Regions from separate parts of the Homo sapiens genome. Here regions 1 and 3 are each linked to region 2. Evidence: promoter capture Hi-C in human tissues and cell types (Jung and others, 2019). All regions are on one chromosome and are shown on one strand. Each heading gives the region's core, a stretch centred on a gene start or on the middle of the fragment in contact. The rest is flanking DNA. Distances are from core to core; before and after follow the strand shown. Region 1 has its middle 14 kb from the start of KCNG4. Region 2 holds the start of COTL1 (coactosin like F-actin binding protein 1). Region 3 overlaps CRISPLD2 (cysteine rich secretory protein LCCL domain containing 2).

Evidence for each region. Contacts are between HindIII fragments. The study calls those that stand out against the background at their distance.
Region 1: a contact is called between a fragment that was not itself captured here and the fragment with the promoter of COTL1 in region 2, in 2 of the 25 tissues and cell types used here (IMR-90 fibroblasts and aorta).
Region 3: a fragment that was not itself captured here is called in contact with the fragment with the promoter of COTL1 in region 2 in 1 of the 25 tissues and cell types used here (thymus).

The regions. Positions count from the first base shown.
Region 1 is chr16:84,251,663-84,255,566 of GRCh38, forward strand. No RefSeq gene overlaps it. Among named protein-coding and RNA genes, the nearest start is that of KCNG4, 14 kb to the left of the region's middle. The HindIII fragment of the contact is 8,191 bases long and covers 1-3,904 here.
Region 2 is chr16:84,616,459-84,620,548 of GRCh38, forward strand. COTL1 (coactosin like F-actin binding protein 1) reads right to left here and starts at 1,620. Exons shown (of 4, transcript NM_021149.5): 1 at 1,380-1,620; 2 at 1,043-1,125. The coding sequence starts at 1,456. RefSeq lists silencers at 1,449-1,498, 1,519-1,878. The HindIII fragment of the contact is 16,310 bases long and covers 1-4,090 here.
Region 3 is chr16:84,875,201-84,879,369 of GRCh38, forward strand. CRISPLD2 (cysteine rich secretory protein LCCL domain containing 2) reads left to right here. Exons shown (of 15, transcript NM_031476.4): 12 at 2,238-2,310. Among named protein-coding and RNA genes, the nearest start is that of LINC02176, 51 kb to the right of the region's middle. The HindIII fragment of the contact is 5,719 bases long and covers 1-4,169 here.

The DNA.
Region 1 (3,904 bases), core at 1,215-3,714, 360 kb before region 2:
GACGGCCAGGGATTAGGTTAGAAAGGAAAATGGGGTTAGAGCAAAGATGGCGCTGAATCCTGGGTTGGATTCTTGGATCTTATTCCAAAGGCATCGCAGAATCATGGAAAGAATTCAAGAAGTACTTGGCCAGATCTGACGTACCTTGGGGAGGATACATCCAGGGTGGGATTTGAAGACCAGATGAAGGCAGAGACAAGACAGCGACCCCAGTTAAGAGACCACAAAAAGAGTGTGTGAGTGAGATAAGAACCTGAACAAAGGAGGCGGTGGAAGGAATGCAGGGGTGTTTCAGGAAGAATAAATGTTGACAGGGCTTGGGACTGGGTGGCTGCAGGGAATGAAGGGCCAGAGGAGGCTGCTGTGGCCCCAAGATTTCCAGTCTGTGTGGCAGAGTGGATGAAGGGGGCAGCCACTCACATAGAAAGCCGTGGGGGAGGAGAAGTTGGGGCAGAGGATGTTGGCCTTGCGCATGCTGGGTTCAGGGCATCACTGGAGACGTGGGGATTTGGAGTCCGGAGCACACAGAATTGCACAGCGCTGGAGTTCAAAGGCGCGTTTCCCCAGCACCTTTGTCCCCGGATCAGAACTCACCTTCAGAGAGGTGCAGTGAGAAGGGGGGTCTGTGCAGAATGGGGGTCATCTAAGAATGGACGGGGAGGCACAGCCGGCACAGGCCTCTGGGTAATTGGAAGGTCAGTTGTCACCTTTCAGGGCGGTTTCTATGGCAACAGAGGGAAGTTGCAGTGTGGAGGGGAGGGGAGCCCAGGAAGCTGGAAGTTTGGGAGTGAATGAATGAAAAGGAAGGTAGGGTGAGAGGTGGGGGGACAGGGTGGAGGCCAGGAGGTGAGGGGAGTCAGGATCCAGTGGAGAGGGAAGAGGGAGATGCAGGCAATTGAGGGGCAATCCAGAAGGCAAAACTGTGGGGAAAGCAATGAATTTCCTCTCAGTCCTGTGAGATGGGAGGCCTGGAGGGAAACCCGGGAAGAGGACTTCCCACAGAAGGCCGGGTCCTGGCTGACAGGCAGGGAAGGAACCAGGATCTGGGTCTTGTTGGATATGGAAATGGGCTGGTCCCAGGCGTGTCCTGGACTGTGATGGGTAGGGACCCTTTTAAAGTTTCCCAGGGTTTCCAAAGAACAGCCTGGGTGAGTCTGTGTAGCCCAGCACACGAAGACCCCACTGGGGCAGCGTTGAGAGCGGTAGACTGCCTTCAACTATTCCTTGTCAGTTGCTAATTATTTCCTGCAGAACAGTGTGTGTGTGTGTGTGTGTGTGTGTGTGTGTGTGTGTGTGTCGGGGGCGGGGGGGGGTGTTAGTTTCTTCCTCCGCACCCACTTCATCTTTCTACTCTCCCCCACTCCCTGGTGCCCTCCTGCGAAACTTTTGTGCTGTGCGTCTGTTCTCAATGACTTGCCATCTGCTGAGCCATTTCTGAGTATGAGTGACACCAGCGGTCCAAGGAAAAGAGTGTTGTTCCAGTAAGTTTGGGGGAAGGAGGGCCAAGCAGGTTCCCTTCTTGCAGAACTGCTCAGCACCTTTGAGAAGTTGATGGAAAAGGCACTTTGTCCATCATGCGCAACACTGGGGTTGTAGTGGAGTCTTTGGCATGGTGCAGGGTGTTTTGCACCGGCCTTGTTCACAGGAGTGGAGTCTACTCAGGGGTGACAATGATGGGACAAGAAGGCCAAATGGCAGGAGATGAGAATAGGAGTCTTGGGAGTAGGGCACAGTGATGGGGAGCAGCTGGCCCATTTCAGGCGGTCTTACTCCTGAAGGCCTCATCTCACAGCCTATCAACCTTCTTATGTGCACCCGCTTTTCACATCCAGAAACTGGTTTGCTCTGCAAAGATGTGGGTACATATTTATTGTTTTGCTTTGCAAATCTTTTGGCTATGAGGACCTTGTTTAATGGATGATTGGCACTGACTCCTCAGCAGACGTTGTACCTGCTTTAGAGAGGTCACTTCCAATGTGACAAGGAAGCTGACATGTGGCTTTTCAATGTAATGAAATATTTTGGGTACAAAATTGACTAATGAACAAATGGATATATTAAATATCAAAATCTATATTAATAACAGGTTATTTTTCCTCATGATTTGGAAACTTTGCATGTTTTCAGAATCATCCATCTTTTGGTAGGTCTTTGGGAAGCTTGACGGTCCTGGATCTTGGGGGCTAGGGGTGCCTAGTGGGGTCAAGGGAGGTCTGGGGGTCTTGGAAAGCCAGGAGGGGTGGGAGCCTGAGGTCTCCAGGAAGACAGGGGCGAGGTGGAGAGACAGGAGATCATAGGCAGAGATTGGCATCTACGTTCAGGATGTTGGAATTGGAGGAGTGTTGGCGGAGGGGTGTTGGGGTCCCTTGTGTCTGATGTGCCTGGGCAAGGAAGAGTTTCTGCTACCAGGACTCTCCTGAGGAAAAAGGATCTAAAACTTGGGAGCAAAGCAGACGGCTGTGTGTGCATCCTTTCAATGTCACACTGTAGCTTCTGTGAACAGGCCAGCTCGGGAGTTATTTATATTTAATTCTCTGGGGGAACTGTGGCTTTGTTTGACTCTTTTTGTACTGTTGAGTAGGGCCCCCGGAGTCTGACGTTAACATGTTAACTTGCAAATTTTTGTCTGGTAGAAATGAGTCTGATTGCTGTCTGTTAGTGAAGAAACCTCCAAGGTCATGGTTTTATTGCCCTGAAGAATGTTCTCCAGTTTTGTGTCTCACCCAGAATCCCTGTCCCAGCATTCTTCTCCCATGCCTGTGAATACTCAGGATGGTCACCAGCTTTAGTGTTCTTGGTCCTTTCACTTATGAGAATGAGGGATTTTTGACACATACTCATTCATTCTATATTCATGGGACAAGTTTGTTGTTTTTTTTTGGTTTGTTTGTTTGTTTGTTTGTTTGTTTTAGTAGAGACAGGGTTTCACCATGTTGCCCAGGCCAGTCTCAAACTCCTGGACTGAAGCAATCCACTTGCCTCGGCCTCCCAAAGTGCTGGGATTACAGGTGTGAGTGATCATGCTGGGCCCCATTTAAAAAAATGTTTTGAAAATTATATTTTGATGCCCTTTCCTAGTAGAACACATCTCCTGGAGGCCCAGGAAGGGAAGGTGGAGACTGGGATCATTGGGATCTTTGAGAGATTTTTGGTCTCATGGCACATGGTGGTGCCTCAGATGCAAGCACAGCAACCTCTGAGCCCTGCTCCAAGTTTGTATAGGTCAGTCCCCACTTCCAGGTGCCAAATTCTGTCACAGTGATCTTTTGCTGTGCAATAAGCCATCTTGAAAACACTGGCATAAAATAATGATTATTTATTACCAATTTTTAAAAAAGAGAGAATCCTGGCTTCTGTGGGTCAGGACTTTGGGCAAGGCACAACAAGAAAGGCTTTTCTACTTCATGATGTCTAGGGTCTCAGCCAGAAGCCCCAGAGCTGAGGGTGACTCTAGTATATGAGGCGGTGGCTGGAGGATCCCCTTCTAAGGTGTTCTTTTTAGTCCTGTGTCTGACACATTGGCAGGGATGGCTGGAAGGCTGGGCTCAGCTGGGACGGTTGCTCAGAGCACCTCTCTGCGGCCACTTCAGCATGGCAGCCTCCATGGGTAGTGAGACTTCTGAAATGACAGGTCAGTGCCTTGTGAGTAAGGTAGGAGCTGCATGGCTTTTTGTGACCCAGCCTGAAAAGTCACATAGTGTCATGTCTGCTGTGTCTAAGCAGTCAGAAGCCTGCCCACTCTCAAAGGGAGGGGACCCAGGCTCCACTTCTCAGTGGGAGGAATGTCAAAGAACCTGTGGTCATGTTAAAGTTGCTGCTGCTGCTTCTACAATTTCCATCCTCTTTGGTCCTTTCTGATGGCTCCTAATAACCCACATCTCATCATAAACCACAAGACTTTGCC
Region 2 (4,090 bases), core at 370-2,869:
TACCACTGCACTCCAGCCTGGGCAAAAGAGGAAGATTCTGTCTCAAAAATAAATAAATAAATAAATAAATAAATAAGTAACCCACACCGTCTGGCTCAGGGTCCACGCCGTAACCTCCGGGCTGTGCTGCCGTTGTCCGAAAGCTTGCTTCCAACTAAAGACCAGAGATGGGAGGGAGTCGCATTCTCCAATCTCTTTAAAAGGTCCCATTACCAACATCACAGAGCCTCTGCCACTACCGAAGGGTTTATGGCGATGCCTGCCACGTGGTCTTTCTTTTCATGGTTCACAAGCCACAGGGAAGTGCCTAAGGCACACAAATCTTAAGTATACAGTCTGATGATTTTTCACGCGGGTACACACCTGCATAACCCCCTCCCAGATCAACAAATGTCTACAGAGACATTTTCAGCTCCCAGCAGTCCGGGTGGTGTGCCCCTCCCCATCAGTGGCTATCTAGCCCCAAAAGCTAATCTCGATTCTGACATTCACACCATAGATTAGTTTCGCCTTGTCTAGGATTTCTAAATGGAATCATATGGTGTGTACTCTTTTGCATCTGATTCTACTCGTCAAATTAAAAATCACATAAAATCAGCACACGGGCAGACAATGATAGCGGGAGAAAGGAGGGCGCGGCTGAGTTTCTTTCCCTTCCAAGCAGCCCCCTAGCCTGTTCGTATTTGGGCTCAGTGACTGATCAAAGGGGACAGTGGGAAGAGCTGGATGGACACTGGAGTTTGGAAACACAGGAGTTGACCTTAGAAAACCAGTGGACCGCAGGGGGCAAAAGAGCTGCCCCGCCTGGAGAAGGCATTGTAGGATGGCGGAGGCAGGTGGGTCACTTCTGTTGCTTCGGATGTCCAGAGGGGAGAAGGTTTTATGAGGCCTTAAAACGCTCACACCGGGTTCCTCCCACGCCATGCGCCAGGGGCACCCCATGTGGCCACCGGTTCCTCCCGGGTTCGCTCTGGCCGGGGCTCCCCGGGTGCAGACAACCTCCCAACGACCGCGCATCCGCCCGGCAGGCGCGCCTCCCTACCTGTGCACTGCTGGATGAAGTGCTGGTACTCCGCTCCCTGCTCGCCGGGGACGATGGTGGAGCCGTCATATTTAAAAGTCACCCTTTGGGTTGGGAGAAGAAAAAAACACACACACACATCAGCGCTGGTGGCCGCGCGACGCGGCGCTTGCAGAGGACAATCTAACAGACGCGCTGGCCACGGAGAAGCCCGCGGGGGCCTGGCACGCCGTCCCGGAATAAGGCGAGGAAGACAGCGCGGGAGGCCCGAATCCGTCCCGCCTGGAGGCCGGCTCGGTGCACGAGGCCCCGCGCGAGCCCGGGGAGCGGGGCGTGGAGACGAATGAAAAGTTCCTACCAGATGACGGCCGAGCCGTCGTCGCGCACCAGGTTGTACGCCGCCCGGCAAGCCTCTTTGTCGATCTTGGTGGCCATCGCCGCGGAGCCGCAGCGGGACACTGTCCGGGGCGGCCGAGCGCGCCCCTGGCCGGCGGCGGGGATGGGAGCGCGGCGGGTACGCGCCGAGGGCGCACGGGCTGGCGGCGGTGGCGACGGCTACGCGGCGCCTGCAAGCTGCGAGCGCGGCGGCGGCTTCCACTGCGGACGGAGAGCGCGCGGGGACCCCAGGCCGTGGCCCGCCCCGCCCCCCCGCGCCCATTGGCCGCCCAGGCGGCGGCCCGCCTCTTCATTGGCCGTCGGGCTGCGGGGGCGGAGCGTCTTGATTCTCTGGCGGCCAATCCCAGACCGGAAGGCTTGCGCAACTCCGCGGTGGGGGCTGGAGTAGGGGCTTTGCCTCCTCCCTCTCACTCTCCCTCCTCCCTCCCGCTCTCTTCTCCCCCAACATCCCTCTTCTCTCTCCTTCTCCTTCTCACTTCCCCTCCTCCCCTCCCGACCCCTCCCTGGAAACTCCCACTACCCCAACCCCCTTTCCCACCCCGCCTTCCTCCTCTCCCTCCTCCTTCCTCTTCTTCCCCCACTGCTTGCTTCCCCCACTTCCCTGACCTCTTCCCCCTCCCTTCCCTCCCCCTCTTTCTCCCTTCCCCCTTTATTCTTCTTCCTCTCTCCTCCTCCCTCTTCTTGCCTATCCCAGCCCAAAACTTCTCCATCCTCCCTATTTCCTTCTCCCCAAGCTCTCCTCTTTCCTCCTCCTTGACCCCCTCCCCTGCTGCCCCCGGCTTCGCCTCCCTCTTCTCCACTTACCCTCCTGGCATCTCCTCCCTCCCTGTCCCCTACTCCCTCCTCCTATTCCCCCTCTCCCCCTTCCTCATTCTCCCCACCCCCCTGCCCCTGAGGCTGCAGGGCTGCAGAGCTCCACAGGGGACCTCCACGTGGATGATGTAATGCGTCAAACCCAAGGAGACAGGCTGGCCACTGTCCCTACCCCAGCGTTTGGTTCCATGGATTCTAGGTGGGGAGGAACTGGAAAGAATGAAGCATTTTAAATAGGAGGGGGTAGAAAGTGGACTGCTTCCAAAACGCTGGTGGGCTCGCGTTTACTCTGGATTCTGGTCATTTGCATTCCTATCTTAACCTCTCCCTTTGGGCTCCTCTGAAAGCACGAGCTGACTCATTCTGTCTTCCTCATTCCTTCACTGACTCATTCATTCATTCCCTCATCCAGCCATTCCACAGAGACCAGTTACAGCGTCCAGGTAGGTAAAAAGGCAGGATCCTGAAGACTGGGCTCTTGAATTGCATCCAGTACTGCCACTTTCCAACTGGGGGCCATTGGAAAGCCTCAAAACCTCTTTTAAATGACTCCTCAAATGGGAAAAATAGTATAACTGACATCACTGCTTTGTTTTAAGTGTAATTGAAATGATACTTGGAACAAATATACTAGACATTCGATAAAATGTCATCATTGTTGGTTATTAAGTGATAAAAACAAATCCTAAATAGAAACCCAAAAGGTCAGGGACAATGTCCAATTAATGTTAGAATTCTCAACAAGCAAAAAAACAAAAACGAGAAATTGAATGAATCAATCAATCAGTCAATCAATGGGTAGTTGAATGGGTGGGTGGACAGGAACACAGTTTCAGAAGAGTAGAGGCAGATGCTGTTATAAATAAGACAAAAAGAAATTCACATTTCATACCCCACAAAGCCATTCCTACCTTACTCCTTGACAAGGGTAATGGGACAATTGGCCATTAGAAAGAAGAACAAAGGTGGATCCTTTGATCAGGGAAAATTCCAAAAGGATCAAAAATTTAAACACAAATAAAGGAAATCAGACCAGTCGCAGTGGATCACTCCTGTAATCCCAGCATTTTGGGAGGCTGAAGTGGGAGGATCTCATAAGCTCAGGAGTTCGAGACCAGCCTGGATAACAGGGGGAAAGCCCATCTCTACTAAAAATACAAAAATTAGCCAGGCGTGGTGGCAGACGACTGTAATCCCAGCTACTTGGGAGGCTGAGGCAGGAGAATCGCTTGAACCCGGGGCGGGGGGCAGAGGTTGCAGTGAGCTGAGATCGCACCATTGCACTCGAGCTTGAGCGATAAAGCGAGACTCTGTCTCAAAAAAAGGAAATCACAAAAGTGCCAGAAGAAAATATGGGGAGCTTCCTTCTAACCATAAACCATGTTACCCAAATCCAAATCCAAAAGCCATTGAAAAGATGAATACATTCAAACACATAAAAAGTGATCCAGGAAAAAAAAAAAAAAACATACCATACCACCTCATGCAAAGTGTAAACATAAAAAGACAAAGCAGTAAAAAGTGTTTGCAACTCAAGTAAAGAATTAGTCTTGCTAAAATATAGAGAAGTCAAACTTAAAAAAAAGAAAATGAAAAGAACAATGGGCACAGAATATGACCAGACAGATTAAATGATCTTAAACATGCAAAAAGATGCTCAACCTCAACTCCTAGTAAGAGAAATGCAAATTAAAGCAAAATTGAGATACCTTTAAAAAATAAATAAATAAACTAGCAGTTTGGTAAAAATAAAAAACTTTGACAAGCCTACTTTGCTGGGGAGGCTGTGGAAGACCCAGGTCCTCTTGTACATTGCTGGTGGGAGTGTGAATTGACACAACCCCCATGGAGCCGCCGTAG
Region 3 (4,169 bases), core at 232-2,731, 260 kb after region 2:
ACTACACTCCAGCCTGGGTGACAGAGCAAGACCCTGTCTCAAAAAAATATATACATATGTGTGTGTGTGTGTGTGTGTGTCAGGAATATATTTCTGTGCCTTTAAATCAAGCTTGTCCAACCCACAGCCCATGGGCTGCATGTAGCCCAGGACGACTCTGAATGTGCCCAACACAAATTTGTAAACATGAGAAACATGAGATTTATGCATGGACTTTTTTTTTTTTTTTTTTTTTTTGTAGCTCATCAGCTATCATTAGTGTTAGTATATTTTATCTGTAGCCCAAGACAATTCTTTTTCCAGTGTGGCCTAGGGAAGCCAAAAGATTAGACACCCTTGCTTTTTTTATTTTATTTTTTATTTTGTTATTTTTTGAGATGGAGTCTCTCTCTGTCGCCCAGCCTGGAGTGCAGTGGCGCAATTTCAGCTCACTGCAACCTCCTCCTCATGGGTTCAAGTGATTCTCCTGCCTTAGCCTCCTGAGTAGCTGGGATTACAGGCACCCGCCACCATGTCCAGCTAATTTTTTTTTTTTTTTTTTTTTAAGTAGAGACGGGGTTTCGCCACGTTGGCCAGGCTGGTCTTGAACTCCTGACCTCAGGTGATCCACCCGCCTGGGCCTCCCCAAGTGCTAGGATTACATGCGTGAGCCATTGCACCCGGCCTGGACACCCTTGCTTTAAATGTTCTTCCAAACCTAATGTGAATGATCTCCCCATTGAATAGAAGTCCCTTGATGTACTAAACCAGTCCCCTTTGTTGGATAGCTATATAGAACCATGGCCTGTTCAAGTGACAGACTGGACCAGCAGGGTTCAGCAAACGATGACTCATGGGTTAAATCCTGCCTATTGCCTGCTTTTGTAAATAAAGTTTTATTGGAACACAGTTACACCTATTCCACATCATCTATAGCTCCTCTCTGCTACAACAGCAGAGTTGATTAATCTTGACATCAAACATAAGGACCACAAAGCCAAACATGTTTGCTCTATGGTCCTTTAAGAAAAAGTTTACCTGGCCGGGCGCGGTGGCTCACGCCTATAATCCCAGCACTTTGAGACGTCCAGGCAGATGGGTCACCTGAGGTCAGGAGTTTGAGACCAGCCTGGCCAACATGGTGAAACCCCGTCTCTACTAAAAATACAAAAATTATCCAGGTGTGGTGGCAGGCACCTGTAATCTCAGCTACTTGGGAGGTTGAGGCAGGAGAATTGCCTGAACCCAGGAGGTGAAGGTTGCAGTGAGCCAAGATCATGCCATGGCACTCCAGCCTGGGCGACAGAGTGAGACTCCGTCTCAAAAAAAAAAGGCCGGTGCAGTGGTTTCCACCTGTAATCTTAGCACTTTGGGAGGCTGAGGCAGGTGGATTACCTGAGGTCAGGAGTTCGAGACAAGCCTGGCCAACATGGTGAAACCCTGTCTCTACTGAAAATACAAAAATTAGCTGGCTGTGGTGGCAGGCGCCTCTAATCCCAGCTACTCGGGAGGCTAAGGCAGGAGAATCAGTTGAACTCAGGGGTGGAGGTTGCAGTGAGCCAAGATCGTGCCGTTTCACTCCAGCCTGGGCAAAAAGAGCAAAACTCTGTCTCAAAGAAAAAAAGAAAAAGAAAAAGTTTACTTAGCCCTGAACTAAATAAAGACATGCTGTCAGAGATCACAGGTGGCCAGTATTAGAACTGTTTCCTTACCTGTGTTGTTTAAACACAACAAAATGACCTTGAAGATAAAAGCCCCTCGCCCCTCAGCAGGGATGAATGTGCCTTGATTAGCGGCAGGAGGTAGGTGGTATGTCAGAAGGAGCTCTAGAGCAGGCACTGGAAAGCTGGGCTCCCACCTCAGTCCTGGGAAGGGCACTCTGAGCTCTCTGAGCTTCCATTTCCTCATCTGCCTACTTAGAGTAACACCTGCTGTGAGGAGCAAAGGTGATCAAGTCAGGAAAAGCTTCCAAATAAGAAAGTCACCATTCAGATGAAAAGCACCATCAGCCCCACAGAGAAACCACTGGGGGTGACAACGCCCTCAACCCGCCAACACATGCAGGCCGTGGGTTTGGTCTCATCTCTTAAGTGCCCCTACGTGGGGTACGAGGAGCCTGCTGGGTCGTAGTCCCAGCTCTATTCAAGGGCCCAGGGAACCCATAGGCCCTGGTAGTCTAGTGGCCCATTGCACAGCCTGGTAGCCTGAGGCCCAGGCGTGCTGGGACCTGACCCTTTCCCCCTTGCTCCTGTTCACAGTGCAGGATTTGGACTGCTACACGACCGTTGCTCAGCTGTGCCCGTTTGAAAAGCCAGCAACTCACTGCCCAAGGTAAGGCGGGCCTGATCTGTCATCTTTTCTATGGAAGATGTTAGAAGTAGCTTTTTAGGCTGGGTGAGGTGGCTCACAGCTGTAATCCCAGCACTTTGGGAGGCCGAGGCGGGTGGATCACTTGAGGCCAGGAGTTCGTGACCAGCCTGGCCAACATGGTGAAACCCCATTTCTACTAAAATTACAAAAATTAGTCAGCCATGGCGGTGGGTGCCTGTAATTCCAGCTACTTGGGAAGCTGAGGCAGGAGAATTGCTTGAACCTGGGAGGCGGAGGTTGCAGTGAGCTGAGATCACGCCATTGTCCTCCAGCCTGGGTGACGAGTGAAACTGTGTCCCAAAATAAATAAAATACAAATTAAAAATCAGCTTTATTGAGGTAAATGATACGATCCACCCATTAGAAGTAAACGATGTGTGGCCGGGCACGGTGGCTCACGCCTGTAATCCCAGCACTTTGGGAGGCCGAGGCAGGCGGATCACGAGGTCAGGAGATCGAGACCATCCTGGCTAACACGGTGAAACCCCGTCTCTACTAAAAATACAAAAAAAAAAAAAAAAAAAATTAGCCGGGCGTGGTGGCGGGCGCCTGTATTCCCAGCTACTCGGGAGTCTGAGGCGGGAGAATGGCGTGAACCCAGGAGGTGGAGCTTGCAGTGAGCCGAGATCGCACCACTGCACTCCAGCCTGGGTGACAGAGCGAGACTCCGTCTCAAAAAAAGAAAAAAGTACACAATGTGTTTTGGCCAAGGTATACAGGGTCACAACCACCACCCGTCAAAGTGTAGACATTGTCAGCACCGAATGTCATTACTGCTCTGGTGGCCAGTCCCTCTCCCTCCAGCTCCCGGCCACACCCCTGCACCAGGGAGCTTCTTTCTGTTGCTCTGATTTTGCTTTTTCAGCAAAATTATGGCGCCGTGGCAGGGTGTGGTCTTGGGTGTCTGGCTTCTCACTCTGCGTCATGTGTTGGAGACTCAGCCGTGTTGTGGAGCGTGTTTGTTTATTCTTTCAAATCCTCATGCAGCATTCCATTCTGTGGATACGTGACAACGGGTTTGTCCCAGGAATCGGTTCTACAGGCAGCTAACCCCAAATGAGTGGTCCACGGAGGACGATGCCTCCCAGCATAAAATAAAGGGTGTCCTGGGAACAGCTGTCGCTGAAGTTCCTGGTAGATCCTCTTGGGAAGGGAACACAGGAACATCCTCTTATTTGAATCGGCTGAGGCACCTTCTCAGGTGGAAAAGGCCGCAGGTCTCTGGGACGTCCCCACTTTATAGATGTTCCCCAGGGTTCAGATCATATAATACATCTGTAATGCTAAGCTGCCCTTCAAACAGAGCACGCTTTCTGACTTAGCTCCATTGTAGAATTAGAAATAGAATGACAGTCCCAGGACCCTGGGTTGAAATGCTTTGAGGATGAAGACAGCTGCCCTGGAGGCTGGGTGGTGTGGCCCTCATGAGCCCTCATCCTGGGCTGGAGACCTGTGGATTCTCCAAGGGACAATAGGTGGTGACCCCAAGGTTCCGAGCAGGGAAAGGCCCAGGAGGGTGACTGGTTGGGAGGGGCCCAGACTGCTTTCCCTTGACTGCCACCCCACTTCAGGCTTTCTCTGGGCCTCCACTGCCTCCGCACCACCGTCTTGATCCCCCTTGAATGTTCGAGTGGGGATAACAGCCTTTTAGTAGATTTTCCCTGAATATTAGAGAGAAGCAGAAGGAAAGAATTTCAGAAAATACAAACAGAAAAACTTGACACAGTGCAATATGCAAAATGTTAATTTCTGATCTGCCATTCCAAAAGAAGTAGGAAAGAATGGAGACTGTTCTTAGACTCTTTCCAATTCTTTTTTTT